Regions from separate parts of the Homo sapiens genome. Here all the other regions are linked to region 4. Evidence: promoter capture Hi-C in 16 types of primary human blood cells and fetal thymus (Javierre and others, 2016). All regions are on one chromosome and are shown on one strand. The core of a region is centred on a gene start or on the middle of the fragment in contact, and the rest is flanking DNA. Distances in the headings are between cores, read along the strand shown. Region 1 overlaps BPTF (bromodomain PHD finger transcription factor). Region 2 overlaps BPTF (bromodomain PHD finger transcription factor). Region 3 overlaps BPTF (bromodomain PHD finger transcription factor). Region 4 holds the start of WIPI1 (WD repeat domain, phosphoinositide interacting 1). Region 5 overlaps BPTF (bromodomain PHD finger transcription factor).

The links. The method cuts DNA at HindIII sites, captures the fragments that hold promoters and counts their contacts. A CHiCAGO score of 5 or more calls a contact.
Region 1: a fragment that was not itself captured here is called in contact with the fragment with the promoter of WIPI1 in region 4 in 9 of 17 cell types (naive CD4 T cells, activated CD4 T cells, total B cells and 6 more); the score reaches 12.1 in naive CD4 T cells.
Region 2: a contact is called between a fragment that was not itself captured here and the fragment with the promoter of WIPI1 in region 4, in 3 of 17 cell types (naive CD8 T cells, total B cells and non-activated CD4 T cells). The highest score is 6.5, in naive CD8 T cells.
Region 3: a contact is called between a fragment that was not itself captured here and the fragment with the promoter of WIPI1 in region 4, in 1 of 17 cell types (total B cells). The highest score is 6.6, in total B cells.
Region 5: a fragment that was not itself captured here is called in contact with the fragment with the promoter of WIPI1 in region 4 in 7 of 17 cell types (non-activated CD4 T cells, naive CD4 T cells, total B cells and 4 more); the score reaches 6.5 in non-activated CD4 T cells.

What each region holds. Positions count from the first base shown.
Region 1 is chr17:67,937,949-67,943,923 of GRCh38, reverse strand. It overlaps BPTF (bromodomain PHD finger transcription factor), which reads right to left. Exons shown (of 28, transcript NM_182641.4): 19 at 3,268-3,485. Among named protein-coding and RNA genes, the nearest start is that of C17orf58, 56 kb to the left of the region's middle. The HindIII fragment of the contact is 623 bases long and covers 3,940-4,562 here.
Region 2 is chr17:67,897,298-67,903,375 of GRCh38, reverse strand. The region is part of intron 7 of BPTF (bromodomain PHD finger transcription factor); the gene reads right to left. Among named protein-coding and RNA genes, the nearest start is that of BPTF, 75 kb to the right of the region's middle. The HindIII fragment of the contact is 507 bases long and covers 2,256-2,762 here.
Region 3 is chr17:67,857,807-67,863,955 of GRCh38, reverse strand. All of the region lies in intron 2 of BPTF (bromodomain PHD finger transcription factor), which reads right to left. Among named protein-coding and RNA genes, the nearest start is that of BPTF, 35 kb to the right of the region's middle. The HindIII fragment of the contact is 3,407 bases long and covers 60-3,466 here.
Region 4 is chr17:68,456,223-68,461,626 of GRCh38, reverse strand. WIPI1 (WD repeat domain, phosphoinositide interacting 1) reads left to right here and starts at 4,131. Exons shown (of 13, transcript NM_017983.7): 1 at 4,131-4,285. The coding sequence starts at 4,206. It also overlaps a transcript of PRKAR1A not described here. RefSeq lists silencers at 3,689-3,975, 3,712-4,391. The HindIII fragment of the contact is 11,803 bases long and covers 1-5,404 here.
Region 5 is chr17:67,915,623-67,921,613 of GRCh38, reverse strand. It overlaps BPTF (bromodomain PHD finger transcription factor), which reads right to left. Exons shown (of 28, transcript NM_182641.4): 12 at 2,776-2,900; 13 at 1,471-1,599. Among named protein-coding and RNA genes, the nearest start is that of C17orf58, 78 kb to the left of the region's middle. The HindIII fragment of the contact is 7,070 bases long and covers 937-5,991 here.

The DNA.
Region 1 (5,975 bases), core at 3,002-5,501, 520 kb after region 4:
CAGTTATCTGTCCACAAGCAACACTGTTCCTCCAGATCCAAGTTTCCCAATCTATAAAATAAAGGTATTGAATAACTAAAGTCCCCACAAAATTCTGATTTTAAATAATCTTATATTCATATTTTACAATTTCAAAAGCATCTTCATAGATACTGCCTCATTTGATTCTCACAATGGACTTGTGACTTTATGGGGTAGGCAGAGAAAATATTCTTCTGATTCCCAACTAAGAAACTCAGGTTAGAAAGGTCAAGTACCCTGGCCAACTTAAAGGTGAGATAAAAGAAGGAACCTAGATCTCCTGAATTTTGTCTTTCAATACGTGCCAAATTACCTATGGGGTGTGTGTGTGCTAAACTGTAAAAAGCTTAGGGTTTTAGATATGTAATGCAAACACCAAGTAAGGAGGATCACTAAGGTCTGAGCAGTTACCAAAAAGGGGTCCAGAAATTTAAAATTCTCTAGGCGCTCTCTCTTCTGTCCAGAACTGTAATTCAACTAGAAACCCTGAATACCAGGAACATGCTGGAGAACTGGAAAGCAAAAGTAAAAACCATCCCCTAAACTCCCAATGACCAAAACTGATGGCGCAAAGTCCATGTACTAAGTAAGCTCCATATACATGTGAATCCCTCAAAACTTATTTACTCTTGCTTTTCTAAAATACATTTTTTATGCACAAAATGCACAAAACACCAAGTATAATTTAAAAATTATAAAGTAAACATCTATAAAACCGCCACTGTGGTCACCATTGCCAGTGTCCTAGAAGTCCCCATATGACTCACCCGGATTTCAATTCCCTCCCTCTCCCCTAGAGGTAAGCACTATCCTCACTTTGATGATAACACTGTATTTCATTACTACTTCGGTATGTATCTTAGGTATATATAAGGCCACTGAGGTTCACAAACTCAGGAGCAATATTCACAAAGAATACAATGGGAATAGTGCCCCCTCCAGGCAGGCAATGCAGCAGCCCTGTATCCCTACACAAAATAGCTTAGTTTTGCCTATTTCTGAATCTTATACAAATGAAATTATAACATGTATTTTTTTTGGCAGCTACTTGCTTCTTTAGCTTACCATTATATATTTGTGAGAATCATCTGCATAGTTCTGTGTGGCTGAAGTCTATTCATTTTTATTGCTGTAGGAATATACTACAATTTACTTAGCTAACTGATTTTGATAGACACCTGAGTTGTTCTTAGTTTTTGATTCTTATGAACAATGCTGCTACCAATATTTATGCCATGTATTCTGGTGCTCACATGGCCAACAACTTCTCTAGGGATATACCTAGAAGGTATACTGGGACCTTGGGCATACACAGCTTTGACTTTACCAGACCATGTCCAGGAAGTTTCCAAAATGGCTGAACCGACTGATAGGCCCACCAGCTGTGCATGAGAATTCTTTCTGCTCTATGTCTTTGCTAACTCTTGGTTTTGTTGGACATTTAAATTTGTACCAATCTCTTAAGCATATGGTTTTAATATGTACTTCTCTCATTATTAATAAAGTTCAGCAGTTTTTTGGAATTTGGGACATTTAGATTTCTTCTTTCCTCATAATGTTGGTTTGTCCTTTTTTTTTTGTTTTTCTTTTTTTTGAGACGGAGTCTGTTGCCTAGGTTGGAGTGCAGTGGTATATCTTGGCTCGCTGCAACCTCTGCTTCTTGGGTTCAAGCAATTCTCCTGCCTCAGCCTCCCAAGCAGCTGGGATTACAGGCGTACACCACCACGCCTGACTAATTTTTGTATTTTTAGTAGAAACGGGGTTTCCCCATGTTGGCCAGGCTGGTCTGAAACTCCTGACCTCAAGTGATCCACCTGGCTTGGCCTCCCAAAACCTTGGCCCCCCAAAGTGCTGGGATTACAGGTGTGAGCCACCGCACCTTGCCTGTTTGTCTTTTTTCCTATTGATCTATCTGGATTTTTTTCTTTCTTGATTTGTAGTAATTCTTTATATATTCTGGATATGTAATAGTCCTTGGTTGGTTCTTTTCTCATTTTCTTCACTCTCTCTGTAGTGAGTTTGATGAACAGAGGTTCTTACTCTTATTTTTAAAGTAGTTGAATTTATAAATCTTTTCATTTATGGTTAGCATTTTCTATCTGTTTAGGAAAGCTATGAAGATATTCTTCTATCTTCTAAAGGTATTATAGTTTTACCTTTCACAGTTAGGACTTTCATCCTCCTGGAATTGAGTTTATGTAGAGTGAGGTAATAATGGTCCAATTTCACAGTTTCCCATGTATATTCAATTGTCCTGGCACCATTTACTGAAAAGTCATCTCTTCCTCAATGATCTGCAATGTCACCTTTGTCATATAACAAGTGTCCACATACATGGGGTTCATGTTCTGCACTCTCTACTGTTCTGTTGGTCTATCTGCCTCTCCTTATGTCTGTACCTCACTATATTAATTAGTGAAGTATTATATACTAAGTTTTTTGGTTTTTTTTAGATGAAGTCTTGCTTTGTCACCCAGGCTGGAATGCAGTGGTGCAATCTCAGCTCACTACAACCTCCGCCTCCCAGGTTCAAGCAATTCTCCTTCCTCAGCCTCCTGAGTAGCTGTGATTACAAGCGCATGCCACCACGCCCAGCTAATTTGTTTGTACTTTTAGCAGAGATGGAATTTCACCATGTTGGTCAGGCTGGTCTCAGACTCCTGACCTCAAGCAATCCACCCGCCCTGGCCTCCCAAAGTGCTGGGATTACAGGCGCAAGCCACCATGCCCAGCCTATACTAAGTTTTGATATCAAGTTATCATATATAGGGCAAATAATCCTGTTCTTCAAAGGTACAGATATTCTTAATACTTTGTACCTCCATATAAACTTTCAGTATCAGCTTGTGAAGTTTCACTAAAAACAAAACCTCTTGGGATTTTGATGGGAGCTGCATTCAATTTATTAATCAATATTAGAAGACTTGCTAACAATATCGAGTCTTGCAAGGAAGCAGCTTAATGTACTCAAATTTTATTTGTCTCATGGAGATTAGCCAACTAATAAAATTTTGGTGTTTAAAAGGGTTATCTGTCTCACTGTTTTAGCTCACTGTCTAAAGATTACTCTAGTAGTTGGGGTTTATTATATCCTGTCTAAGAGGTATTTCTGCTTGACTCCAGGAAGCAACCATTTCTTCAAATCAGCACATTTAAAAACGTATCAAAATAAGTTCATGTTTTTAAACTTACCGCAAGAATAAATAAGATCACCTCTAAAGTTAAAATAAAGCTTATGTTACTTACGTGGCCCTGTGTTAACTGAGTAAGTTGAGCCATGGTGAGCTTCACTTGTCCTTGTTGGGGGCGAGGGGGTTGTGAGGCTGAAGACTGTATATTTGAAGTGGACGTTGCTGAAGTTAAGCTTTTCTGCCCAGGTGTTGAGGAAACCGTGTTAGGGGCGGAGACTGCAGTGGAGACAGGCTGCCCCCTGATGATTTGAGTCATCACTTGCTGAGGAGCACCTACCCAAACAGCAAAACATTATGAATGCTTATACACCCTTGGCATTATTTTGAATTGAAATAATTCAACACCTCACATGAACGTATTCTTTTCCATCTTCAAAAAAACACTGGGATATTCAGAGCCTAAGGATACATTCAGACATATACCCACATCCAAAGGTCCTGCCTGGTTGGCAGTGAGTCTGTTTTCACTGCCAACCGTTATCCAGTCTCTGCTGTCTGTAGGATAATGGAAAAAACCAATTAAAATTCTTCCTATAAATCTAAAACCAAAATGATAATAGGGAAGACAAAAAAGAATGTGTAAAATATGCCATTTATAAGGCTGCCTTTTCTTAGGAATATAATATTAAAAATAAGTGCTAATTTAATAAAAAATTAATTCATATGAATTTTAAACAAAATATAAAGAATCTGGAATATTCTGGGCCAACTGCATTTATAATAAGCTTCTCTTACAGCTATTTGACAGATAGCTTGGGAGAGCCATGAAGGCAAGGACCACTATATCCTCAATACTAGGGCAGAGTGCTCAAATAATGCTTTTCTTTTTTTTGAGACGGAGTCTCGCTCTGTCGCCCAGGCTGGAGTGCGGTGGCGTGATCTTGGCTCACTGCAACCTCTGCCTCCTGGGTTCAAGCGATTCTCCTGCCTGAGCCTCCCGAGTAGCTGGGACTACAGGCATGTCCCACCACACCCGACTAATTTTTTGTATTTGTTTTAATAGAGATGGGGTTTCACCATGTTAGTCAGGATGGTCTTGATCTCCTGACCTCGTGATCCACCCGCCTTGGCCTCCCAAAGTGCTGGGATTACAGGCATGAGCAACCTCACCTGGCCCAAATAATGCTTTCATAGTAATTGTTCAATAAATGTCTATTGAATGAATGAAGTTGAACTGGAATGGCTCTACAGTTTTCCATAAACCTCTTTTTAGTTTAACTTGCTGAAACTAGAATAGGCAAGTGGAATTTTCCCCCATGTAGAACAGTTGCTAAGAATAATTTTTTGGTAGCTAATTTGACACTTACAGACTCATTACTAACTACTGAATAACATCAAATTTCTCAAGCTTTTAATATTTACTCGCTGCCTTTTTTCCATCTGTGGATACACATATATATCTTTGTGTTTCTCTTAATGGCTGAATGATACTTCATATTACTGCACATATGTAAAATGAAACTTATTTTGACATTCAGAATACTTCCCCCACACCTTTTTGTTGTTGTTGTTAAACTAACGCCATGGTAAAATTCCTGCTTATCCATTTTTGGGTGCTTCTGATTATTTCTTTAAAGTAACCCTCCAAAAAATATTACTGGGTTCATAGTAGGAATATAGTACTAAGTTGAAGTTTTGAAAGGTTATTCCAATTCACACTACTGCCAGCTCTGTGTGCCTATTTCACTGAACCCTGCCAAACCTTGATATCACCAGTAAAGTAAAATATTCAGGCAACTGCAAATAGTATCATGTATCACAGTGCTAAATTTCCTCAATTACCACAGGTTGGCATTAAAAACTGTTTTAAGTCATTGTTCTTCATTTGTGAATTCACTCTCCACACACTGCCCATTTCTTTTCCTACTTATTTAATACATATTTTTAGAAACTATTTTTTCCACTTTGCCATCTACGTTTTTATTTCTAAACTTGCAATTTTAAAAAATGCGGCCAGACTAGTCTTTTTAAAAATTTTGGCTTTAATTATTGCTTGTAAAGTTCTCTTGTATTCTCTCATCAGATACATCCTCCCAAGAATGTTCTTAGTCCTGGTATATGTTGTAACACGGAAGTCTATTTTCCCCCCAAACTATAAGCCAATTATTCCAGTATCATTTACTGATGCAAAATGACACCACTGTCATGCAGCCAATTCCCACATATAATGCCTCTGTAACTATTTGTGTTGCTTCCTTTGGTATCATGCTAATTTTGGTGGCTTTATAATAGCTTTAACAACTGGTAGTACAAGTTTTCCATTATTACTCTTTCTTCTAAATTTTTCTTGGTTACTCTCATTCATTTACTCAAGATGAACTGAAAGACAGCATAACATAGTGTGGCCAAGGTCTTTAATTTGAGAACTCCTATATCCCAGTGCTATGTCCTTGCATTGCAGTTTGAGAAACAATACATGAAAAGTTATCACTTCCAGAGATCACCTGGTACAGATACATTGCCATCATAAGCAGAGACAGATAAAAGGATTGGTACTGATTCATTTTTATAAGCCACCCAGATGATCTCCAATAGGTATATATCAATTTATTTTTAGATCAAAATGGAAATTCAAAAATGTAATAATTTCTGACTGTACTCCGAGGGTCTGTGAAGTCTCGCTCTATTGCCCAGGCTGAGGGGCGGTCTCAGCTCACTGCAACTTCTGCCTCCTGGGTTCAAGCGATTCTCCTGCCTCAGCCTCCCAAATAGCTGGGATTACAGGCTGCGCCACCATGCCCGGCTATTTTTTGTATTTTAATA
Region 2 (6,078 bases), core at 1,260-3,759, 560 kb after region 4:
GAATTAAAAAATATTCCATTGCATGGATATGCCATAATTTATTAAACCAGGTCACTGTTAAAGAATACTTTGTTTCCAGAGTTTTTTCCTTCCAAAAAACGAAGACCAAAGAATACAAAAACATTTATTTTATCAACCAGTATTTCTGATTCTCACAAGCACTGCGGATTTTAAAGCACTCACAGATCTACTAACAGAAATCAGGTTTCTTACATCCGCAGAGAAAGGGGCCCATGGGGCCCCATCTTTCGAGAAAGAGAGGAAGGATGAGGAAGGTCGGCCCATATTGACCTAAATCATGAGACACAGGCATCGGCCACAACTCCTTCTCAGGCAGGAAAGGAAATCACTGCACCTACCAGTAAAGACTGTGGTGAGGCTCTACATTTAGGGGATTAGACTAGATTTTTATGAATCAGAATATTTCTCAGAGAGACACGAAGCAAAACCTACAAAGAAAGGAGCTCTTGTCTCTAAGAGCGCTAGTGGCAGAAGAACTGCTTTTATCACACCCTAACCAGATGCAGCCAATTTCTCATGCACAGCTCTGCAGAAAGAATAGAGACCTTTTGTTAACTTGGGGTAGTGATGCCGAAAAGATGTGGGAGGGGATTTCAGTCTTTTTATCTCCTTTCCCCCCACAAAAAACTCCCCATCAATCTCCCGGCTTCTTCTCTCCCTCCCAACTTTTACGACGGCTTTGTGTCCCTGTGATTGTAGGTTCCCAGAATACAGTCTCCCCCAGGCTGACAGCTCATGCCTATTAACTGCACTCAACTGGTGTAGCAAACATTCTCCATAGGCTCTTCGTAGTCTCTCATAAGCTGATGGGAGGAGGGGAAAGGGAGCAGATCCTCACTGGGAGCTAATGTACTCAAATTCCATCCCTCTGCCAACACGCTTGGAACTAAGGAGAAGGACTAGCTCTGTAGGCACAATACGGTGGATAACCTGACAGTCTCAGGCTACAGGAGTAAGGCGGGGTGACTATGCCAGGAGGACTGTGTAGGATTTCTCATGGAGATTTTGAGGGCTTGGCTTCTATACACCTCTGAAAGGCCAGGTCCAGCATGGCAACTGGGCCATTTTCACTGAGAGAGGCCAGGAATGGAGCACTGTCTGAAGGACTTCAGCGCAGTGACACCCTAGGAGCTCAAAGCTGGGCAGGGTGCTCAGTTGTGTTCTTGGTGTCCATGAGGCAAAGAGGTCCCTTTTATCACCAAATACAAAGGCTTCTCTTTGTGGAGGAAGCAAGGCCAGTTAGGCAGTCTTATGGCTAATCTCTGATGCTACCTATCCCAGAGTAGCATGCTGGTGGGTGTGCCAGTGGCAGATTTTCTTTCTACTTCTTGGCCAACGAAGTCCAACCAAGAGAATGAACTCAACTTCAACTCCACTGGTGCTCAGGGTTTTGTGGTGTTTTGCTATCACAGCCATAGCTGTAACAAACAATATTTTATGTCTTTCTTGGTAAACCTGGGGAGTACCCCCCTATATCCTCCAGTGGTGGGATGGCTGGGTCCAAAAGTTCTTGCACTGAAAATGCTGACGGATATAGGGTCAAACTACTCTTCAGAACAGTGCAATCATAAAGCCACCCTGCGTTCCTACACCTTCACTCATGCTGAGTTAGTATTGAACTTCTAAACTGTTAGTCAAACTCAGAGGTAAAAAATACTATCCCATTGTTTTTAATTATGAGAGAAGTAATCATTTTTTATGTCTACTGGCCTTTCATATTTATTTTTCTGCAAAATGCCTATTCAAATCCTTTGTCTTGTTTGTATTAGACTATTAGTAGTTTTCATTTATAAAAGGTCTTTGTCAATCAAGAAAATTTTCCATTTGTGGTAAAAATATTTTTCCTCGGTTTGTCATCTGTCTTTTGACTTTGATTACAATAACATTTTTCCACTCAGAATTTTAAATATATGTATCCACTTTTTTCCTCTATGGCATCTGGATTTTTTATCTGTTTAAAAAGAAAGTATCACAACAAAAACATAAATTAATTCATGCTTTCTTATTGACGTTTTCTTTTGTTTTTAGGGTTCTGGGTTTTTTTTTTTTTAACAATTCTTCATCAATCTAAATGTTTTTTGCTAAGGCAGAGATCTAAGTGATATCTTCCCAAACATGCTTTCCCTTTGTGATGTGCAATGCTACTACAGCTAAATTCCCATGCTTAGGTCTATTTTTGGATTCTGTATTTTATCTACTGATTTGCTTCTTCTGTAGAACAAATTATTGAAGCTTCAAAATGTGCTTTAATATCTAGTACCTTTTTCACTAACATCTATTTTTTCCCCTTTTGGCTATTCTTACACAATAACTTTTTTTTCTTTTCTTTTTTTTTAAAGACAGGTTGTCACTCTGTTGCCCAGGATGCAGTACAGTGGCGCAATCATAGCTCACTGCAGCCTCAAACTCCTGGGCTCAAGCAATCCTCCTCCAACTTCTAGGCTCAGTCTCCCAAGCAGCTGGCATTACAGGCAAGCAAGACCATGCCTGGCCAATTTTAATTTTTTTGTAGAGACAGAGTCTTGCTATGTTGCCCAGGATGGTCTCAAACTTCTCACTTCAGGTGATCCTCCCTCCTCAACCTCTCAAAGTGTTGGGATTACAGGCGTGAGCTACTGTGTGCAGTATTCTTGCACATTAACTTTTCTAGATCAAATATTAGTATCGTTTTGGTCAAACCTCCCCTGCTCCAGGATGGAAAATCTTATTCCCAAAGTATCCTTCATGTCTTTAGTTAAGCTTTAAAGATTGCTTAGCTTTTTAATTAATTAATTAATTATTATTTTTGGTAGAGACAGGGTCTCCCTATGTTGCCCAGGCTGGTCTTGAACTCCTGGGCTCAAGCAATCCTCCCGCTTCACCTCCCAAAGTGCTGGGATTACAGGCATGTGCCACCACACCTGGCCTAAAGATTGCTTTACACAGGCCTTGAATATTTCTTGTTACATTTGGCTGAACGCGGTGGCTAACGCCTGTAATCCCAGCACTTTGGGAAGCCATTGAGGGTGGATCACTTGAGCACAGGAGTTCGAGACCAGCCTGGCCAACACGACAAAACCCCATCTCTACTAAAAATACGAAAATTAGCCGGGCATTGTGGTACTTGTCTGTAATCCCAGCTACTCAGCAGGCTGAGGCAGGAGAATTGCTTGAAACCAGGAGGTGGAGGTTGCAGTGAGCCGAGATGGCGCCACTGCCCTCTAGCCTGGGCGACACAGCAAGACTCTGTCTCAAAACACACAGACACACACATGCGCACACACACAATTATTCCTAGGTGCTGGAGGTTTTTGTTGTTGTTGTTCCTGGAATCTTCTGCTTCATTAAAATTTTCAAAAATATGTAAAATGCAACCAGGTTAAGAAACAGAACTTTATCTACAACCAATACATCAGATGCTTGTGTGTCCAACTCCCTGGCAATCAATACTTTTGTGCTAAACATTCCCTTGTTTTTCCTTATACTTTTAGAACCTATGTGTGTGCATCCCAAACTGTATAAGTTTGCCTTTTGAAAACTCAGCATAGGCCGGGCGCGGTGGCTCATGCTTGTAATCCCAGCACTTTGGGAAGCCGAGGTGGGCAGATCATGAGGTTGGGAGTCGGAGACCAGCCTGGCCAACACAGTGAAACCCCATCTCTACTAAAAATACAAAAATTAGCTGGTCGTGGTGGCACACGCCTATAATACCAGCTATTCAGGAGGCTGAGGCAGGAGAATCACTCGAACCCGGGAGGTGGAGGTTGCAGTGAGCTGAGATTGCACCACTGCACTCCAGCCTGAGCGACAAACAAGATTCTGTCTCAAAAAAAAAAAAAAAAGAAAAAAAACTCAGCATCAAGTATAAAACTACCTGCATAGAGCAGTATTGTTACTATCAAAGAAGGTTCCCAGGAAAATATAAACTTGTCTCTGGGTCACAGTCTGGCTTCAGCTTTCAGGAAAGTTTACAGACCTCTTTTGGTGAAATCAGTGGGTGAGATCATGAGCAAACCCTGGAAGATACAGGGCTCACCACAATCAAGGTATCTGGCGTGACTGCAGCATAAAACAGGTCTACTACAGCCAAGCATCCAAAGCGGCTGGCTCTGTACTTCCTGCTTTTGGATCTTTTGAGGACTGTTTTCCCCCACTGACTTGGGATTTGGCCTTTGTGGGTAGGCTGCCATTTGTCTACCTGCATTATTGCTTCAGCAATTTTATAGGTGGTGTATTTTCTGTTGTTCCTCTTGTCCCTGTGGGTCTGTAATTTTACAAAAGTTTGGCCACAGTTTTGGTGGAGTTCAGCGTGGAACAAAATTGTATGTGTTAATTAATTAGATCAACTGCATATAATAATTGTGTCTATATCTTGACAATATTTATAAGTTTTATTTCTCTTGGCAAACTGCATTTCCTGGTACTTTTAGAAATTTTTTTTTTTTTTTTTTTTTGAGACAGGGTATCACTCTGTTGCCCATGCTGGAGTGCAGTGGTGCAATTATGGCTCACTGCAGCCTCCAGCTCCTGGCCTCAAGTGATTCTCCTGACGTGGTTGCCCAAAGTGCTGGGATTACAGGTGGGAGAGCCACCTCACCTGGCCAATAGTGGGTATCTTTTTTGTTCCACCTGAATGTTATTGGGAATGCTTCAAGGGTTTCACCAAAAGGCATAATAATTTGGTTTGCAATACATCTTCAAAAAAAAAAAAAAAGACTTCATATACTCGTATTTATCTAAGAGTTTAAAAAAAGAATGAATAAATAGGCCAAGTGCAGCGGCTCACACCTGTAATCCCAGCACTTTGGGAGGTCAAGGTGGGAGGATAACTTGAGGTCAGAGATTCAAGATCAGTCTGAGTAACATAGGGAGACCCCATCTCTACGAAAAAATTAAAAATGTAAAAAAATTAAAAATAAAAAAACCCAATAAATTATAATGAACTTAGATAAAATACCTTCTTGGCATCTAATGAGATGATCAAAAGGTTTCCTTTCTTCAACTTTTTTCTTTTTAAGACAGCATCTTGCTCTGTTGCTCAGGATGGAGTGCACTGGTGCGATCTCAGCTCATTGCAACCTCTGCCTCCCAGGTTCAAGTGGTTCTCCTGCCTCAGCCTCCTAGTAGCTGGGACTAAAGGCATGCAACACCATGCCTGGCTAATTTTTAGTAGAGATGGGGTTTCACCACATTGGCCATGCTGGTCTTAAACTCCTGGGCTCAAGTGATCCACTCGCCTTGGCCTTCCAAAGTGCTGGGATTACAAGTGTCAGCCACTGCATCCAGCCTTTCTTTGACTTCTTAAAATAGTATGGTATTAGTAATCTCCTAGTATTGGAGATTGGTGTCTAAGGTGAAGCCAATTCAGCCATGGTTTCTTATTCTTTAAATTTACTCCTGAATATATCTGCATACCAATATTTTCAGATTTCTTATAGATACACCTATTTGCTATTAATTATTAATAAATATTAATAAAGAAGACAGGGCCATAATTTTCTATTTGTCTATTTCTATTTATCAAGTTTCCTAACAGTTTCACACTAACAGAAACAATAATTATAAAATTTCCTTTTTCTATTCTGGTAGAAAAGTTTAAATAGAACTATCTGGTTCTCGAAATTTAAGAAATACCTTATGAAATCATCTGGTCCTGCGATCACCTTAATGACAGGTGCAGTGATAACCAGAAATCCTTTTCCTGCCTAAGAGTGTGGCTTCTGCCCTACTAAGGACTGAGATCATTGTGGCATCCTCCCCAACCCTTCCCCCCACCCAAAAGGAGCTCGGTGGGTCCCTTTCTGTGGCAGTGGGGATGGAAGGTGGGGCACGATGAGTTGGGGACTTTTATTCCACCATCTTGGTCCACTCTTTCTAGGTGGACCCCTTTCTTTGTGGATGTAGGAAACCTGAATACTGTGTTAGTGACCCTGTGAAGGCTTTAAAATTCCAAGTTCTAATAAAAGAGAATCAGAAATATTGGTTAGTATGTCTCTTTCTTTACTTTTTTTTTTTTTTTTTTTTTTTTTTTTTTGAGACAGAGTTTCACTCTTGTTGCCTAGGCTGGAGTGCAATGGC
Region 3 (6,149 bases), core at 514-3,013, 600 kb after region 4:
GTTTGCTAAAAATATAATTAAGAGCAAACATACATATTATATGTCTACATTTTAAAGCTTCTTTGACTTTTACCTAGGCTAGCTAAGTAGAAGGTTAATGACTCACAGTAAGTTTCAACTTTCGTTTCTAAACAAACCCATAGAAATGAAGAGTAAAGAACACTAGTGAAATGAGTTGAATAATGTCCCCAAAGTTCATGTCCACCTGCAACCTCAGGATGTGATCTTATTTGGAAATAGGGTCTTTGCAGATGTAAAGTTAAGGATCTTGAGATAAAAATCATCCTGGATTTAGGGTGGCCCCTAAGTCAAATGACTGGTATCCTTAGAAAAGGAGAGGACCCAAGGTGACACATAGAAAAGAAGGTAATGGGCCGGGCGTGGTGGCTCACGCCTGTAATTCTAGAACTTTGAGAGGCCAAGGCGGGCAGATCACAAGGTCAGGAGATGGAGACCATCCTGGCCAACATGGTGAAACCCCATCTCTACTAAAAATACAAAAAATTGGCCAGGAATGGTGGCATGTGCCTGTAGTCCCAGCTACTTGGGAGGCTGAGGCAGGAGAATCACTTGAACCTGGGAGGTGGAGGTTGCAGTGAGCCGAGATCGTGCCACTGCACTCCAGCCTGGGCAACAGAGACTCCGTGTCTCAAAAAAATGAAAAGAAAAAGAAAAGAAGGTAGCATAGAGGCAGCAACTGGAGTGATGTGTCTGTTTGTAAACCAAGAAATGCTAAGGACTGCCAGAAGCTAGGAGACAGGCATGGAACAGATTCTCTTTGAAAGTCTCCAGAAAAACCAACCCTGCTGACCCATGATTTCAGACTTCTGGCCTCCAGGACTGTGAGACAATAAATTCATATTTTTTCAAGCCACCCCATTTGTGGTACTTTGTTATGGTGGCCCTGGAAAACTCCCAACTTTTGGTACGGGAAGTGGGGTGCTGCTGCTAACATACTCAAAAATGTGAAAGTGGTTTTGGAACTGGGTAATGGGAAGAGGCTGAAGAACTGTTAGGTGCTTGATAGAAAAAACCTAAGCTGCCTTGAAAAGATAGTGACAGGGAGATTGGAATTATGCTGCCAGCAAGCCAAGGACACTTGGGGTGCTAGAAGCTAGAAAAGGCCAAAAAAAAAAAAAAAAGCAAGGATTTTTTTCCTAGAGCCTGCAGAGGGAGCATGGCCCTGCTGACACCTTTGAGTTTAGACTTCTATTCTCCAAAACTGTTAAATAATCAATTTCTACTGTTTTAAACTACCCAGTTTTATAGTACTTTTTTTTGGTATAGTACTTTGTTATAGCAGCTGCAGGAAACTGATAAAACTAGCAATTCAGCAATTAAAGACAAAAGCTAGGTCCTAAGCTCTTGGTCAAGCAGCCCAAGTAGTGCTTAGGAGCACACATTCTGGAGCCAGAATGCCTAGGTTCAAATCCCGATCCCACCACTTTGTAGTTGTGTGATCTTGGATAAATTACTTAAAACTCTCTATGCCTCAGTCTCTCCATCTGAAAAATAGGGTGACGGTACATATCCTGGAAGATGCTGTTGTTAGAATTAAATTAATTAAAATATATAAAGTGTTTAGAGTAGTACCAGCACTTCATGGGTATCATATACATAGTTGTCATCATTTTCCTCACCTTATGAAGTGTATAATATTTACCTTAAAACAAGTAACTAGGCCGGGCACGATGGCTCACGCCTGTAATCCCAGCACTTTCGGAGTCCGAGGCAGGTGGATTACCTGAGGTCGGGAGTCCAAAACCAGACTGGCCAACATGGTGAAACCCCATCTCTACTAAAAATACAAAAATTAGCCGGGTGTGGTGGCAGGCACCTGTAATCCCAGCTACTTGGGAGGCTGAGGCAGAAGAATCACTTGAACCTGGGAGGCGGAGGTTGCAGTGAAGCAAGGTTGTGCCACTGCACTCCAGCCTGGGCGACAGAGTGAGACTTGTATCAAAAAACAAAACAAAACAAAAAAACTATTGGTAGGATGGGTGTTTTAAAAAGTAGTATTTCACGATGCAAGAGAAAAAGGGGTTCAGGGAAAGAAAGGGGTGCAGGCAAAGAAATCCCTAGGAAGTAGCATAAATAGGCTGAGACCTCAAGAATGAGCTAGTTAGCCAACAGGTTTTTAGGTGCTTTGGTTTGCTTTTTATTTATGTTGTCTTAAGTGTTAGAAAGCAAGATAATTAAATGTACAAAGTTAGGGATCTGTGCTAAAGAATCTGAAGTTTTGGTTAAGGGCAAATGGAAGTAATTGTAATTAAAAGGTTTTTCAACTTAGGGGAAAAGGAGACTTGATCAAAATTGCTGTTTTAAAAATCATCCAGCTATGGCTGGGCATGGTGGCTCACATCTGTAATCCCAGCACATTTGGAGGCTGAGGTGGGCTGATCACCTGAGGTCAGGAGTTCAATATCAGCCTGGCCAACATGGTGAAACCCTGTCTCTACTAAAAATACAAAATTAGCCAGGTGTGGTGGCGGCCGCCCGTAATCCCACCCACTCGGGAGTCGCTTGAATCCAAGAGGCAGGGGGTTGCAGTGAGCTGAGACTGGGCCACTGCAGTCCAGCCTGAGTGAGACTCCATCTCAAAAAAAAAAAAAAAAGAAAAAATCTTGGAAGGTTGGGGTAGGGGGTTACACTACTTTAGGGGTGACTGACTAGTCTAATGAAGATGACACTGGCTTGTATCACGGAGGGACAGTGGGAATGGAGAGAAACTGATTCAATATTTATTTTAAAGGCATAGCAAACAATAAAGGAAAAAGTTTATTCTCATATTTCTAGCTTGAGCAGCTGGTGGGACAGTAATTCCATTTACTAAGATGAGAACGCTGGATGAAGAGTAGGTAATGGGGGGAAACGATGAGTTTGGTTTTAAACACGTTTGAGGTGCCTGCCTTGCGGACAGGTCCAGGAGTCTGCTGGACATACAGAACTGAACGTGGACAGAAGGAATTCAGGCACGGGAAGTCAGTAAGTTAATATGTGGTTTGTACCTAGAATGGGGAGTAGAAAGCTGTATAGATTTAAAAGCATAGTTTAGTTGATTCGGAAAATGAATACAGATTTTTAAAATGCTGTTTAAAGGCGTGTGGTGGTCCACGCCTGTTGTAATCCTAGCGCTTTGGGAGGCCAAGGCTGGAGGATCACTTGAGCCCAGGAGTTCGAGACCAGCCTGGCAACATAGTGAGACTCTGTCTCTGCAAAAAAATGAAATATAATGCTGTGTTCACGTAATTATATTTAGAATGGAGAGTGACAGAAAAACATGCTAATCTAATCTGGTAATTTCTATTTTAGTAGGTCCTAATTTCAGAGCAAAGGATTGACAGGATAAAAGCAATAGTTAAGAAAGATTGGCCCACTTACATAATGAATGAAAACTGGCCTCTGAGTTATATGCTGAATATGTCTTGGCTTCTCAGATGGACTATAAATTCATGTATAAGAAGCTTTTTTTATTATAAGCTTCACTAATCTATACAAATAACATATTTTTAAGCACTTATTAAATAAAAGCAATAACAGAAAACTTAATTTCTATAAATTGGTAACATTACAATTAAAACCTCTGCATACTATAAACTGCGTGAAAATTCTACATGGCTTTAAAACTATCATGAGGAGTCCACATATAATCTACCACAAAAGTACAGTTAAACTGAAATTATTTTAATCTCATTTTCATAAAAGATGTAAAATCTTTCAGATTTGTCAAAATTGTTGACACATATCACTATGTTTAAAGTTTCCTACTTGATTTTACATAGAAAAATACTCAAAATATCACAGCATGGAAAAAGATAATCCTATTTGCCTGAAATCATCTTTAAAATCTGTGCAGTTTATTATGCATCAAAAAAGGCAATTTGAATGACGACCATAGCTTTTAAAGCAAATAAACTTAAATGAACAGTTTTATTGACAAACATAAGTATTTTACTGTTCCACTAAGAAAAATAAAATATTTGATTTCCTCGACAATGTATCAAAAAATCACCCACAGGTACTTAAAAAGTCATCTGAGTCACGTGATTTCAAAGGTCTGCATTTATGTAATTATCGAATAGTATATATTTTGCTTCCCTGAATGCTGTTTCGTAGACTGATACTGATATATTAGGAAACAGAACTTTTCTGAAATTGCCACTTAGTTTAGATTTTCTAAAAACGCCTTTATTTCAAATCTTTAAAGATTTCATAAATACTCACTGCAGATATAACAGAAACCATTATAGTATCTTTCTCCCCAAGTTATAAGCATTGGTTTTAACAGCTAAAACGATGCAAGTTGCAGATTTCTCAAGAAGGTTTGAAAACTAGACTACAGTATAAAATAAGGTATTGAAAATATTCTTATAAAACACATTCTAAAAAAAATTCCAGGTTCTACCTCCTAAGAGCCACAGGGTCTTGGGCAAATCAAGGGCAAATTATTTAACCTCTTTGAGATTTAGTCTCTTTATCTATAAGATGCAGACAAAAATAGTGCCTGCAAGGCAGGGCATGGTGGCTCAGGCCTGTAACCCTATGATTTTGGGAGGCTGAAGTGAAAGGATTGCCTGAACCCAGGAGTTTGAGACCAGCCTGGCCAACACAGTGAGACCTCTTCAAAATAAAAAATAAAAAAATTAGCTGGGCACGGTGGCACATGCCTGTAGTCCCAGCTCCTAGGGGGGCTGAGGTGAGAGGATGGCCTGAGCCTAGGAGACTGACGCTGCAGTGAGCCATGATCATGCCACTGCACTCTAGCCTGGGCGACAGTGAGACCCTGTCTCCAAAAGTAATTAATTAATTAAAAATAAAATAATAATTAAAAAATATAGTACCTACATTATTGGGCTGTTGGGAGGATTAATTTTAAAATACATAAAATGCTTAGGACACTGTGAGGCACACATGAAGTGCTCAATAAATGTTGCTCTTGGCTGTTACTAACTTATCACAACTACTTCATTTTACAGGTCTCTGAAACTAAGACCTATACCACTGATTACTGTGTAATGAGCCTTAAAGATGTCAAGGTTTTTCTGTATGTGGACAAGACACCTTTGGTCTGTATCTGGCCAAAAAGGGCAGCACAGGGAAAGAAAGAGGCAGTGAGAGTGAATATCCAAAGGGTAAGGACAAGCAGCACAGAAAGGAAGGCACAGGAATGGGAGAATTGGAGCATGGACTAAATTTCACTTACTTCCTAATTTGTTCCCAGCCATCCTGATGACTATGAGCTCCTTTCAGGAGGGCACTTGAGACTGCGTGAACGTGACCTGCTAACTGCTGAATGTCTATACAGAGTACAAGCACCGGGCTCCCTGACAGGCAGCATCACTGAATTTCCACTTACAATGACAACACAGCAGTAAACTTTTTTTTTTTTTTTTTTTTTTTGGAGACAGAGTCTCACTCCATCACCCAGGCTGGAGTACAGTGGCGCCATCTCGGCTCATTGCAACCTCCGCCTCCTAGGTTCAAGCGATTCCTGTGCCTCAGCTTCCTGAGAGCAGTAAACTTTAAACTTTAAAAATGTGGTTACAGTTATTTCACCATTTGGAATGACCTTGCTGACAAAGGTTTCCGTGTTACCACCTCAACAGCAAAATGTCAAAACAAAGACAAAAACAAAAAATGGCACAATGAATACCATGACCAGATGTTTGGGAGGTAAGGGAGCAAGAAAAGAAAAAAGTTACACATATTTTACACATATTTCTTAAAATATCTGATCCAAACCAAAAGACACAGAATATACATTTAAAACCTTAAGTATTGTTTCTCACAGCAGTTTCTGGGTTAAGGTGACAGATTTCATTTTGTTCCCTCCTGAAACCTTCTTAAAACCATGCTAAAGAAATATTGTTAGCCGGGCACGGTGGCTCACGCCTGTAATCCCAGCACTTTGGGAGGCTGAGGTGGGCGGATCACAAGGTCAGGAGTTCGAGACCAGCCTGGCCAATATGGTGAAACCCCATCTCTACTATAAATACAAAAATTAGCTGGGTGTGGTGGCGCATGCCTGTAGTCCCAGCTACTTGGGAGGCTGAGGCAGGAGAATCGCTTGAACCTGGGAGATGGAGGTTGCAGTGAGCCAAGGATCGCGCCACTGTACTCTAGCCGGGGCAACAGAGTGAGACGCTGTC
Region 4 (5,404 bases), core at 2,882-5,381:
GAGAAAGGAGATTATTTCCTGTAACTTGATTTTATAAAAATAGAATGGACTTTATAAAAAGAAGAATAGGACAGGAGTGGTGTTTGTTCACCTAGTAGTTACTTTAATTGTAGATGGTTGGGTGCCATGAATGACCATATGGGGTGACAGGAGTGTTGCATCAGACAGGATGTCTCATTTCCACCTTCCCCTGTGAATGCCCTGTGCATGCCCTAATCAGCATTTTAAAATTACAACCTGATTGTTATACAAATAAGAAGTCTCTCCATTAGATGAACTGTGGCCTGCAATTTTGTATTACCAAACATGTTTTTAATTCCCAGAGCCCAGCTTTATTTTCCCAGATTTTGCTGACTGGTAAGTAACTTACTAGTTACTTACGAGTAAGTTTTCCTAGAAATAATGGAGTTTTTTGTTTGTTTGTTTGTTTTGTTTTTCAGGGAAAAGATAGACATTTAGGAATTTCAGTTGAAAGAAAGAGAAAGGCCAAAATCTTATTCCCACTGGAACAAAGCATTGTCCCCTGCCCCACCTACCCCATTATCTTTTGCTGATGTTATTTAGTAGTGAAATTGCTGTTGCAAGAACTTGTAAGACTTAGGTTGCCCATAAGCCCAACATTCAAATCAAGAGTGTCCTCTCCCACAGAACCCAGAACTAGAATGTTAAAAAAGAAAAACCAGCCTGACATTAAATGGATTCAGCACCTCTTAAGTTATTTATAACCTTGCCCTTGGCTTTTTATATGAATGGACTTCTGGGAAATTTTTTGAGGGTGGAGCTCTTCAAAGTGGCTGCTTACACCTCTAACAGAAATCACAAACCAGCCCTCCACAAACCACATCCAGCTAGCTGATGTATTTAGTTTAGCTTATGAGGTACTTTTTGAAAATAAGAATTAGTTTTCATCATTTTTTAAATTTACCTACAAATACAGGTTTTTAATAAAATAGGCACAGATTTATATAAAAATACAGACTTACATATTGTCTTGGGAAAAATGAAATCAGATGAGGCAGCCCTGAGATGTTATTTCCACATGGCTGGTGCCATAATGGACCATTAGCCTGGAAAGAAACATATAAGGGGGACCATTCACAGGAAAGGCTGAGGCTGGGAAGGTGACCATTTTTCTCCCGTGGCCATAGCTCTAGATCCAAACCTTGATTCCAGTAAGCATGCAGTTCTGCTGCTGATTTAAAGTGTCTGAAATGAAATACAACTTCCTGAATACCTGACTGAAGATCTAGTTTCTAAAAGCAACCCAATGGGCTTCCCCTTCCCAACCATGAAATCAGCTTTGACTCTTCCCTCTTCTTCCCTGCCCCTCCCCCTTCCCCATCAGTTGCCATGCCTGTCATTTAGTCCCTCAAGACTCTACTGAGAATAAAGTAGCCACCAGCTACATGAACACTTAAAATGTGGCTCATGTGAACTGAGATATGGTGTAAGTGAAAAATACACACCGGATATTCAATATTTAGTTCTAAAAAAAAATTAAAATCTGAGGCCAGGCGTGGTGGCTCACGCCTGTAATCCCAGCACTTTGGGAGGCTGAGGCAGGTGGATCATGAGGTCAGGAGTGTGAGACCAGCCTGACCAACATGGTGAAATCCCGTCTGTATTAAAAATACAAAAATTAGCTGGGCATGGTGGCGGGGGCCTGAAGTCCCAGCTGCTTGGGAGGCTGAGGCAGGAGAATCGCTTGAACCCGGGATGGAGAGGTTGCAGTGAGCCTGGTGACAGAGCAAGACTCTGTCTCAAAAAAAAAAAAAATTAAAACCTGAATTAACTGATTAGTAACTTTATATTGATTATCTTTATATTGAAATGATATTTTTGACACATTGGATTAAATAAATGATATTATTCCAATTAATTTGCCTATTTCTACCTTTTTAAATGTATCTTCTAGAAAACTGAAATTTACAATGTGGAGTTCACATTTGGGGCTCATTTTATCTACTGGACAGCAATGCCTGAAAACAACTCTATGATTTGGTCTAATTTTCTGGCCTTGTTTTCATCACTTTAGCCTAGTCTCTCCTGTCCCTTTACTTCCAGAATTTCACATTAGTCCCCTAAAGACTTCTAGATCTTTTCCCACTTCTAATTTGTTCTGCACACCCTGGCCAAGTTTATCTGACAAAGACACTGCTTTTTTATCATGAAACACTCCTGCTCAAAAACTAACACCAGCTCCCAGGTCTATCCCATAAAGTCCAAACTCTTAATAACAAACTGATAATAACAGCTTACACTTTAAAAACTTTATGGTACACTTCATGTAATTCTCCAAACAACGTAGCACCTAGCATGCCAGATTCTAGGTTTTCTAACCAGGACAGAAATGACTGCAGCATTTGACAGAGCTGGAAGGTGGGGGGAAGCACCTTTGATCTGAAAGGTTACAAAAATGGCACAAAGTATCTAAACAGCAGTTCCATTCACTTCTGATAGTTTATACAACACCTCACAATCAGCCAAAGAGCAATAACATCTGTGAATCTATGAGCTGAACTATTTTTTACATCAGTGGAGAGAAAAAAATAATAAAGTTGAGAAAAGAAACTGTTACATTTGCATCTCAGAAAACACAAACCGGAAATCCAACCAGAAAGGTTTAGGTGAAATAGTGCCCTTTGTTCATCTATTGTAGGTCCAAGGTTAAATATATATATATATACACATACATAAAAGTAGCTTTGTCATAAACTGGGTATTAAAAGTGGGAAATGGGGAAAACCGCAATTACTTTTGCACCAACCTAATAAATTTGAATTATGCTGATTTGAGAGACTGTCATATAACAATAACTAAAATATCATCTCAAAATTTGAAAAAATGAATTAAAAATCCATCAGCAGTTATACAATCCAAAGCTGGCAGAGCTCCTGCTTCATAAACCGTATTGACAGTAATTCCGCATGGGAACATGTACAGTACTCAGCTTTTAAAAAGAGATTCTTTGTTAAGGTTTATCTCGAATTACGTGAGTTTTGAATTGTGCTATATCTTCAAGACGTTACCCCTTTCATAAACTACACTGCCCTACACACACTTTCATTTTTTTCAGCTGCGGATCGGATAGGTCTTGTTTAGATACTTTGTGCCATTTTTGTAACTTTTCAGATCAAAGGTGCTTCCCCCCACCTTCCAGCTCCGTCAAATGCTGCAGTCATTTCTGTCCTGGTTAGAAAACCTAGAATCTCGCATGCTAGGTGCTACGTTGTTTTTGCAAATTACTGTTTAGCAGTTATTTAGTGCACAGGTCTTGAAAGCAGACATGCAGACATTCTACCATTTACTGTTACTTTAGACAAATTGTTTAGCTTTGGAGCTTCAGTTGCCTCTTCTGTATATTGAGCACAATCGTATTTTCCACACAAGTTTTATAAGAATTCAAGATGACATACATAGTACGGCGCGCTTGGCAAGTAGTGAGGGTTCTCAACCGCTCGGCAATGGATAAGATAACTTGCTATCTCTCTGGCTGAGGCAGCCCCATTTCAGGAGCTTCTCTCAATGCGGCTTGAGGACTCGACAAAAGGGTGGGGCTTTGGAGTCTAACGCTCTCTGCTAAACTCTGTAAGTTTAATAGGCAGAGTTACACATGGCAAGGGGTCTGGGCGGGGTGGGAACTAGCGCGTCCTCCTGTCACCCTTGCGGCGGCCCCGACGCAGTTGCCGGACTGAAACCAGCAGATCTGGCCCCAGCCGCATTCCTTCTTCCCTCTCCCTCCCAGCTGGGCGGCTCCGGCAATGAAAACACCGCCACGTGGGCCTGCTGCCTTTGCGTCACGCGCCTTTGTCCAATGGAGAGCCGCGTTACGAAGCCAGGGGCGGGTCGCCAGCCGGGCGGGTCCGCCCACAGCTGCCACGGATTGGCCAAGGGGGGCGGTGCCCGCCAGCCGTGGCTTGGGCTCGTGGCCAATGGTGGCCGGAGGCAGGGGCCCCGCCCTATCAGGTGCTCTGGTCCTCGGGACCAGCTGGAGGGGCGAGAAGGGGCGGGGCGAAGCCGGGGACGCGGCGGGGACGGGGCGGGGTAGGGGCGGGGTGGGGACGGGGCGGGGTAGGGGCGGGGTGGGGACGGGGCGGGGTAGGGGCGGGGCAGGACCGGCGACCCGGCCCGTGGAGCCGGCGCGGGCGGGCTGCTGAGGTGGCTGTCGCCGGCTCCGAGCTGCGGCTTCCCGGGCCGAGCCCCCGATGGAGGCCGAGGCCGCGGACGCTCCCCCGGGCGGGGTTGAGTCGGCGCTCAGCTGCTTCTCTTTCAACCAGGACTGCACGTAAGCTGCGACTCGGCCCCTGCCAGGGAGGTGGGGGACAGAGTGTCAGGACCCAGGGGTGTCGTCCTGAGAGCAGCTTGTGGCTTCCGCCTCGAGGCGGCCTCGGCGGGAGGGCCGGTGTCTGCTTCGGACGCATTGGGATCTTGTTATCCCCGTACCCCTTCAGTGGGGTTTGCCGCACCCCCCACCCCACCCCACTCCCAGTGTCCTCCCAGAGCGACAAGGTTGGGCCAAGGGTGAAAGCAGGGAGTTCGCAAAGGGAGTGGTGGGGCTGCGGGGGCCACGGAATATGGGGGGAGCAGGGCGGTGGGAAAGCCAGTGACCAAAGTGGGTGTCTGGGGAAGAGAGACAGTGGCCAAAAGAAAGAGATGAGAAAGGAGAGGAAGTTGCAAGTTGACCCAGGACTCTGTAGTTGGGGCCCAGGAAGATGAGAGTACAGGAAAAACTTTCCCATTTGTCCTTGAGCATCTCAACGTGGCATCTGGGCAGGGCCTCGGACAAAGAGGCAGCCTATCCCTGCGGCCAGGCCAGCCCCTGTCCCATCCCCGACGCAGGGCATCGTGCCTGCCCGCTCTGGATGGAAGAAACCTTTGGATTTCTTTGGCTGTTTTCACATCGCCCACCCAGCCAGGCAGGATCTCCTTCTCGGAGTCCAAGACTCTTTTCCCGGGCGCAGACTGCTTTCTCTCCAGGAAACAGGAGCTCCACCCTGTTGTTTTTGAGTGGATTTTTAATGTTTTACTTCGATGTTCACATTTGGGCTTTGAGAGGGAGCTGGGCTGAAGTGTGTTTCAGGCATCTGCAGGATTCTGTGACTTACAGGCAAACGCCTGTTTCTTTCCCTATTTTCATGGAAGCGAGCCCTGGGGACCATATGGAATCATCTTTTTGGAATGTGCACCCTGAGCATCAGGCGGGGATGACCGATTCCCAGTTTCCCACTTCCTGCTGTACCAGTTTCTGTGCCTTGGCTGCTGGTGACTGAGCTACGCTAATATTGATCCTTCAGTGGTGTAATTAAGGCCATTATGTACCATTAGCCACCCTGGCTTCCATTCCCTTTATGTTTCTGTTTAAAAACACCCGGTGCTGAACAATATGCCTTTGTTTGAAAAACCC
Region 5 (5,991 bases), core at 3,222-5,721, 540 kb after region 4:
TTGGGGAGAACTAACTTTTATAAAAACACTACGTTTCTATCTAAGGACATTATCTTTTTATTTATTTATTTATTTATTTATTTACTTGGAAATGGAGTCTCACTCTGTTGCCCATGCTAGAATGCAGTGGCACAATCTTGGCTCACTGCAACTTCTGCCCCCTGGGTATAAGTGATTCTCCCGCCTCACCCTCCCAAGTAGCTGGGACTACACGTGTGTACCACCACACCTGGCTAATTTTTTGTATTTTTAGTAGAGATGGGGTTTTGCTATGTTGGCCAGGCTGGTCTCAAACTCCTGATCTCAAGTGATCTGCCCGCCTCGGCCTCCCAAAGTGCTGGGACTACAGGCTTGAGCCACATGCCTGGCCTGTATTTCTTTTTTTTTTTTTTTTTTTTTTTTTTGACACGGATTCTCAATCTGTTACCCAGACTGGAGTGCAGTGGTGTGATCTCAGCTCACTGCAACCTCCACTTCCCAGGCTCAAGCAATTCTCGGGCCTCAGCCTCCTGAGTAGCTGGGATTACAGGCATGCACATTACCAATATTTTTGTAATTTTTGTATGTTTTGTAGGGATAGGGTTTCACTACATTGTCTAGGCTGGGCTCGAACTCCTGGACTCAAGTAATCCACCTGTCTCGGCCTCCCAAAGTCCTGGAATTACAGGTGTGAGCCACTGTACCTGGCCTTTTATATATTTCTTACTAGGTTTTTTCCTAAATATTTTTATTGTTTATATAAAATAAAATGGAATTTATATATTTTCAATCTGGATACTACAATGAACTCCTATTAGTGCTAATACTTTTAATTCTCATGAATTTTCTAAGTAGACATTCATAATTATCTATAAATTAGTGTTAATCTTCTTTTCCAATATTACTCTCTTAGCTTACTGCAACACATATAACACTGATATTATAATACTATAAGCTTTACTTTGCTTCCTTGAGATTAGGGGCCAAATATCATTCTTCTATGTATTTGCCACCCAGTGCCTATTGTACTGGTGCTCTATAAACATTTTTTGAGTAACTCTTTATGCCTCTTGGATTATCTCTACCTTGAGCACTGAAGTATTTCACAGTAGTTTTAATCCTTAAGAAACCTTTATTGACCCACTTACATATCAGACTCGGTACTAGCTGCCGTGACTTCAATAAACCAGACAGACGAGATGGCTGCTCTCCAGGAGCTGCTGGTCTGGGGTCAATCAATGTCTCACATCTTAATTACAAGAGGTATTATTATAGCCCTTTGCTGTGCTTAGAACAAGGCTTATAGGCATCGATGTGTGTCTACCAGAATCTTGATATGTTTATTACTTTAATATCATTTTCAAAATTTGGTAGTTGTAAAATATGTCTTTTTTAAAAGGTGAACAGAGAAGAAAAAATTATATCAAATTTCAATTCATAAAATACATGGTTAACAGGTTAATCATGAAAGAATAGAATTCTATTTCTTACCTTTTGGTGTTTCTGGAACTCCAATGGGACAAATGATTTTCCTGATACAATATTCAGATCGAATGCCATAAGGACCAACATCTCTCCTCTTAATTATTTCTGTTGTTGTGATTTCAGTTTCGGATGTTTCTATGGTGATTTAATTCAATAGTATTAATAACCAACTGAAATACTCAGAGACTAAAAAGGTACATCTGGTGCTTTCAAAAAGAGACACACGTGGAATAAACTTTTGGAAACACCTGACTTAATTAACAGGATCACTAACATCTAGCAGGATCACTGCTAGACTGCAACAATACTGAGCTTCTTCCTCGCTGCAAATTCCTAAACGAAACAAAATGCTGCTGGGTATAGCTGAGCTCCTGGTGGCAATACTCAATCAAAATAATAAAAAGCCTAGGACAGAAGCAGCAAGCACAGGCCTCCAGAAGTCTTAGTTTAAATTTTTAATTAAACAATCATAAATATCTTTTAAAAAATGTAGACTGGTTCACACATAAGTGACTCACTTTATAATCTGAACCTTCCCTTCTGGCCCCTGGGATTTTATAGCATGTGCCAAACTTCAACAAAGCTGTATGTGAAAAAAAAATTTTTTTTAAGAGACAGGGTTTTGCTCTGTTATCCAGACTGGAAGACATTAGTGGACCACAGTCACTGCAACCTTGAACTCCTGGCTCAAGCAATCCTCCTGGCCCCAGCCTCCCAAGTGGCAGGGACTACAAACACAAGGCCTAGTTGATTTTTTTCTTTTTAAATTAGAGTTTTGAAGAGACAAGGTCTCGTTATGTTGTCCAGGCTGGTCACAAACTCCTGGCCTCAAGTGATCCTCCTGCCTTGGCCTCCCAAAGTGCTAGGATTACAGGTGAGAGCCACCACACATGGCCAAAACTGTATTTCTAAAAAACAAGCATTATATTTTATTATTATTATTATTATTATTATTATTATTATTATTATTATTATTTTGAGACAGAGTCTCACTCTGTCGCACTGGCTGGAGTGCAGTGGCACAATCTCAGCTCACTGTAAGCTCCGCCTCCCAGGTTCACGCCATTCTCCTGCCTCAGCCTCCCGAGTAGCTGGGACTACAGGAGCCCACCACCACGCCCAGGTAATTTTTTGTATTTTTAGTAGAGACGGGGTTTCACCATGTTAGCCAGGATGGTCAGGATCTCCTGACCTCATGATCCACCTGCCTCAGCCTCCCAAAGTGCTGGGATTACAGGCATGAGCGCCCACGCCTGGCCTGTGATTTTAGCTTTTAAACTTAAATTAGAAAATAACTCCCTTCCCCCTTACCTGTCCGTGTAGTCCCTCCTCCTGGAGGAGCCTTGGCCGCCATATCATCCCATCTCAAACTTGCCCACAGTAACCGTAACATCAGGCTCACTCCAGCTAAGGACTTTACTGTCTGAAGTCTATACCTGAAAGGAAAACCAAAGAAATCCATATATATCTATATGTATATACATACACATACACATTCATATTCACTCTACTAAACTGAAGGGCTGTGTTTCTTGTCCTCATTAGGACTCCAGTATTTATAATATGGTTTTGTAAGACTTTGGTATTATATGTCCTTTAAAAGAAAAACTTCTTCATTCATAGGCATAACACGCACCTAACATTTTTTTTTAAAAGGGGCTATATTCATTTTAAATGCCATATAAGTTTATAAAATGAGAATGTTTCATTGTAAGGTTGATAAGGCAAAAATTCATGAAGACTTTATAAAGTTAACCTAATTCCAAAATATCTGTTAGGAAAATTTTGGGGACCAAATATAGAGAAATAGATAATTGTTATTAAATGTGATAAAGGAGTTTTGAAGGAAAAATCCTAACTTTTGCAAAAACAAGAAACCTGAAAATGTTTAAATTTTCTAAAAGAATAAAATGAGGTCAGATGCGGTGGCTCACGCCTGTAATCCCAGCACTGTGGGAGGCCGAGGTGGGCAGATCACCTGAGGTCAGGAGTTCGACACCAGCCTGACCAATATGGCAAAACCCCATCTCTATTAAAAATACAAAACTTAGGGCCGGGCATGGTGGCTCATGCCTGTAATCCCAGCACTTTGGGAGGCCGAGGTGGGCAGATCACAAGGTCAGGAGATTGAGACCACGGTGAAACCCCATCTCTACTAAAAATACAAAAAATTAGCCAGGCGCGGTGGTGGGTGCCTGTAGTCCCAGCTACTCGGGAGCCTGAGGCAGAAGAACGGCGTGAACCTGGGAGGTGTAGCTTTCAGTGAGCCAAGATCCGGCCACTGCATTCCAGCCTAGGCGACAGAGCGAGACTCTGTCTCAAAAACAAAACAAAACAAAAAATACAAAACTTAGTTGGGCATGGTGGTGCATGCCTGTAATCCGAGCTACTTGGGAGGCTAAGGCAGGAGAATCAATTGAACCCAGGAGGCAGAGGCTGCAGTGAGCCAAGATCATGCCATTGCACTCTAGCCTGGGCGACAAGAGTGAAACTCTGTCTCTAAATTAATTAATTAATTAATTAATTAATTAAATTAAACCAAAAACATCTTACAAATCTAGTAAGACCTTTCCAAACGGACAAAAACATTCTGCATCCAAATGGTGGTTATTCAAAACATGAACAACTGGATGATGAATAAAGTTAATACTAATAAAACTTTAACAGCATTAGTGTAGTTTTCAAATTCTACAATGAATAGTAAAATATTAGAAAAAGGACAATATCAGCTGGGCGCAGTGGCTCACACCTGTAATCCCAGCACTTTGGGAGGCCAAGGTGGGGGGATCACGAGGTCAGGAGTTTGAGACCAGCCTGGCCAACATAGTGAAACCCCATCTCTACTAAAACTAAGCTGGGTATGGTGGCGGGCGCCTGTAATCCCAGCTAGTTGGGAGGCTGAGAAAGAAGAATAGCTCGAACCCAGAGGGCAGAGGTTGCAGTGAGCCGAGATCGCTCCACTGCACTCCACCTCGGGCGGCAGTGTGAGACTCTATCTCAAAAAAAAAAAAAAAAAAAGGACAATACCATATTAGTTACTTATCAACAGACAAATCTCTCTGTGTTCATGTTTGTTTCTAAACATTGTGTGTGGAGGTACTAAACGTTTTACACATTCTTAAAAAATACTAAAAACGTATTTCAAAATAAATTTACTTAACTGCATTAAATATCATGTCCTAAAATGGAATTCACTATATATCTTTGTGTAACTGAATACTTTGTTGACATTTTCACTCTACTTAAATGAACTTAGTGGTTGATTATGGTGTAGACAAAGGCTATAAAATAAAAATAATTTCCTCTTCTAACAGAGGTGGAAGGTAAATCTCAAACAACTCTGTATGTAAAAGGCAATGCTTTCTTTTTTTTTTTTTTTTTTTTGAGACAGAGTATTGCTCTGTCACCCAGGCTGGAGTGCAGTGGAGCAATCTTGGCTCACTGAAACCTTCGCCTCCCAGGTTCAAGCAATTCTTCTGCCTCAGCCTCCCGAGTAGCCGGGATTACAGGCGCCCGCCCAAACATCCAGCTAATTTTTGTATATTATTATTATTTTTTTGAGACGGAGTTTTGCTCTTGTCGCTCAGGCTGGAGTGCAATGGCGCGATCTCGGCTCACTGCAACCTCCGCCTCCCGGGTTCAAGTGATTCTCCTGCCTCAGTCTCCTGAGTAGCTGGGATTACAGGCGCCCGCCACCACGCCGGGCTCATTTTTGTATATTTAGTAAAGACGGGGTTTCACCACTTTGGCCAGGCTGGTCTCGAACTCCTGACCTCAGGTGATCCACCTGCCTCGGCCTCCCAAAGTGCTGGGAGGCGTGAGCCCACCTGAAAGACAATGCTTTCTATTGACAGCATTCAGTTGGAAAAATGAACACTGTGAAAGAGAAAGCTCTAGCCAAAAAGTTGCTGCAGCTTCTTAACTTCCCATATCCACTTGTGACACCATTACTTTCTCCACTGTGTTATCGCACTATGAATCCTCTGACCTGGACAGAGCAGGTCAAGGGGAAATCAGAGGGGAAATGTTAACTAGTGCAGGGATGTCCCAAGAGGGGGAAAGTGTCTGTCACTTTCAGACCATACCCCATAGTAATTCCTAGAGATCTTTAGTGTCACAGGAGAAAGCAAATAAATATTTATTTGCAAGGAAAAGTTTGTCCTCATTCTCTGTGGTCAAACAATGACTTTAAAGTATCCTTATTTTAAAATGGAAATAACACCAGGGAGGAACACACCACATGCACGGTAAGTCTGCTCATTCAAGCATTCATTCAAAAAATACTTGAGCATCTTCTATGTGTTAGACTATGTGAAAGGAGCTGGGGACACAGAGGTAAACTAGAATCTGTCTGTGTTCTCAAGGAGCTGTAAGAGAGGAAAGGACAAGGGAGGGACATCTGAGTTGGCTCGGGAATGAGGATCAGAGCTTTGCTGGAGTCTCAAAGGACAAGTTAAGAGTATGGGGGTTGCTGATCAAAGGCAAGGGGCACACATATGCTAAACAGAACAGTGTGCAGGAGTACAC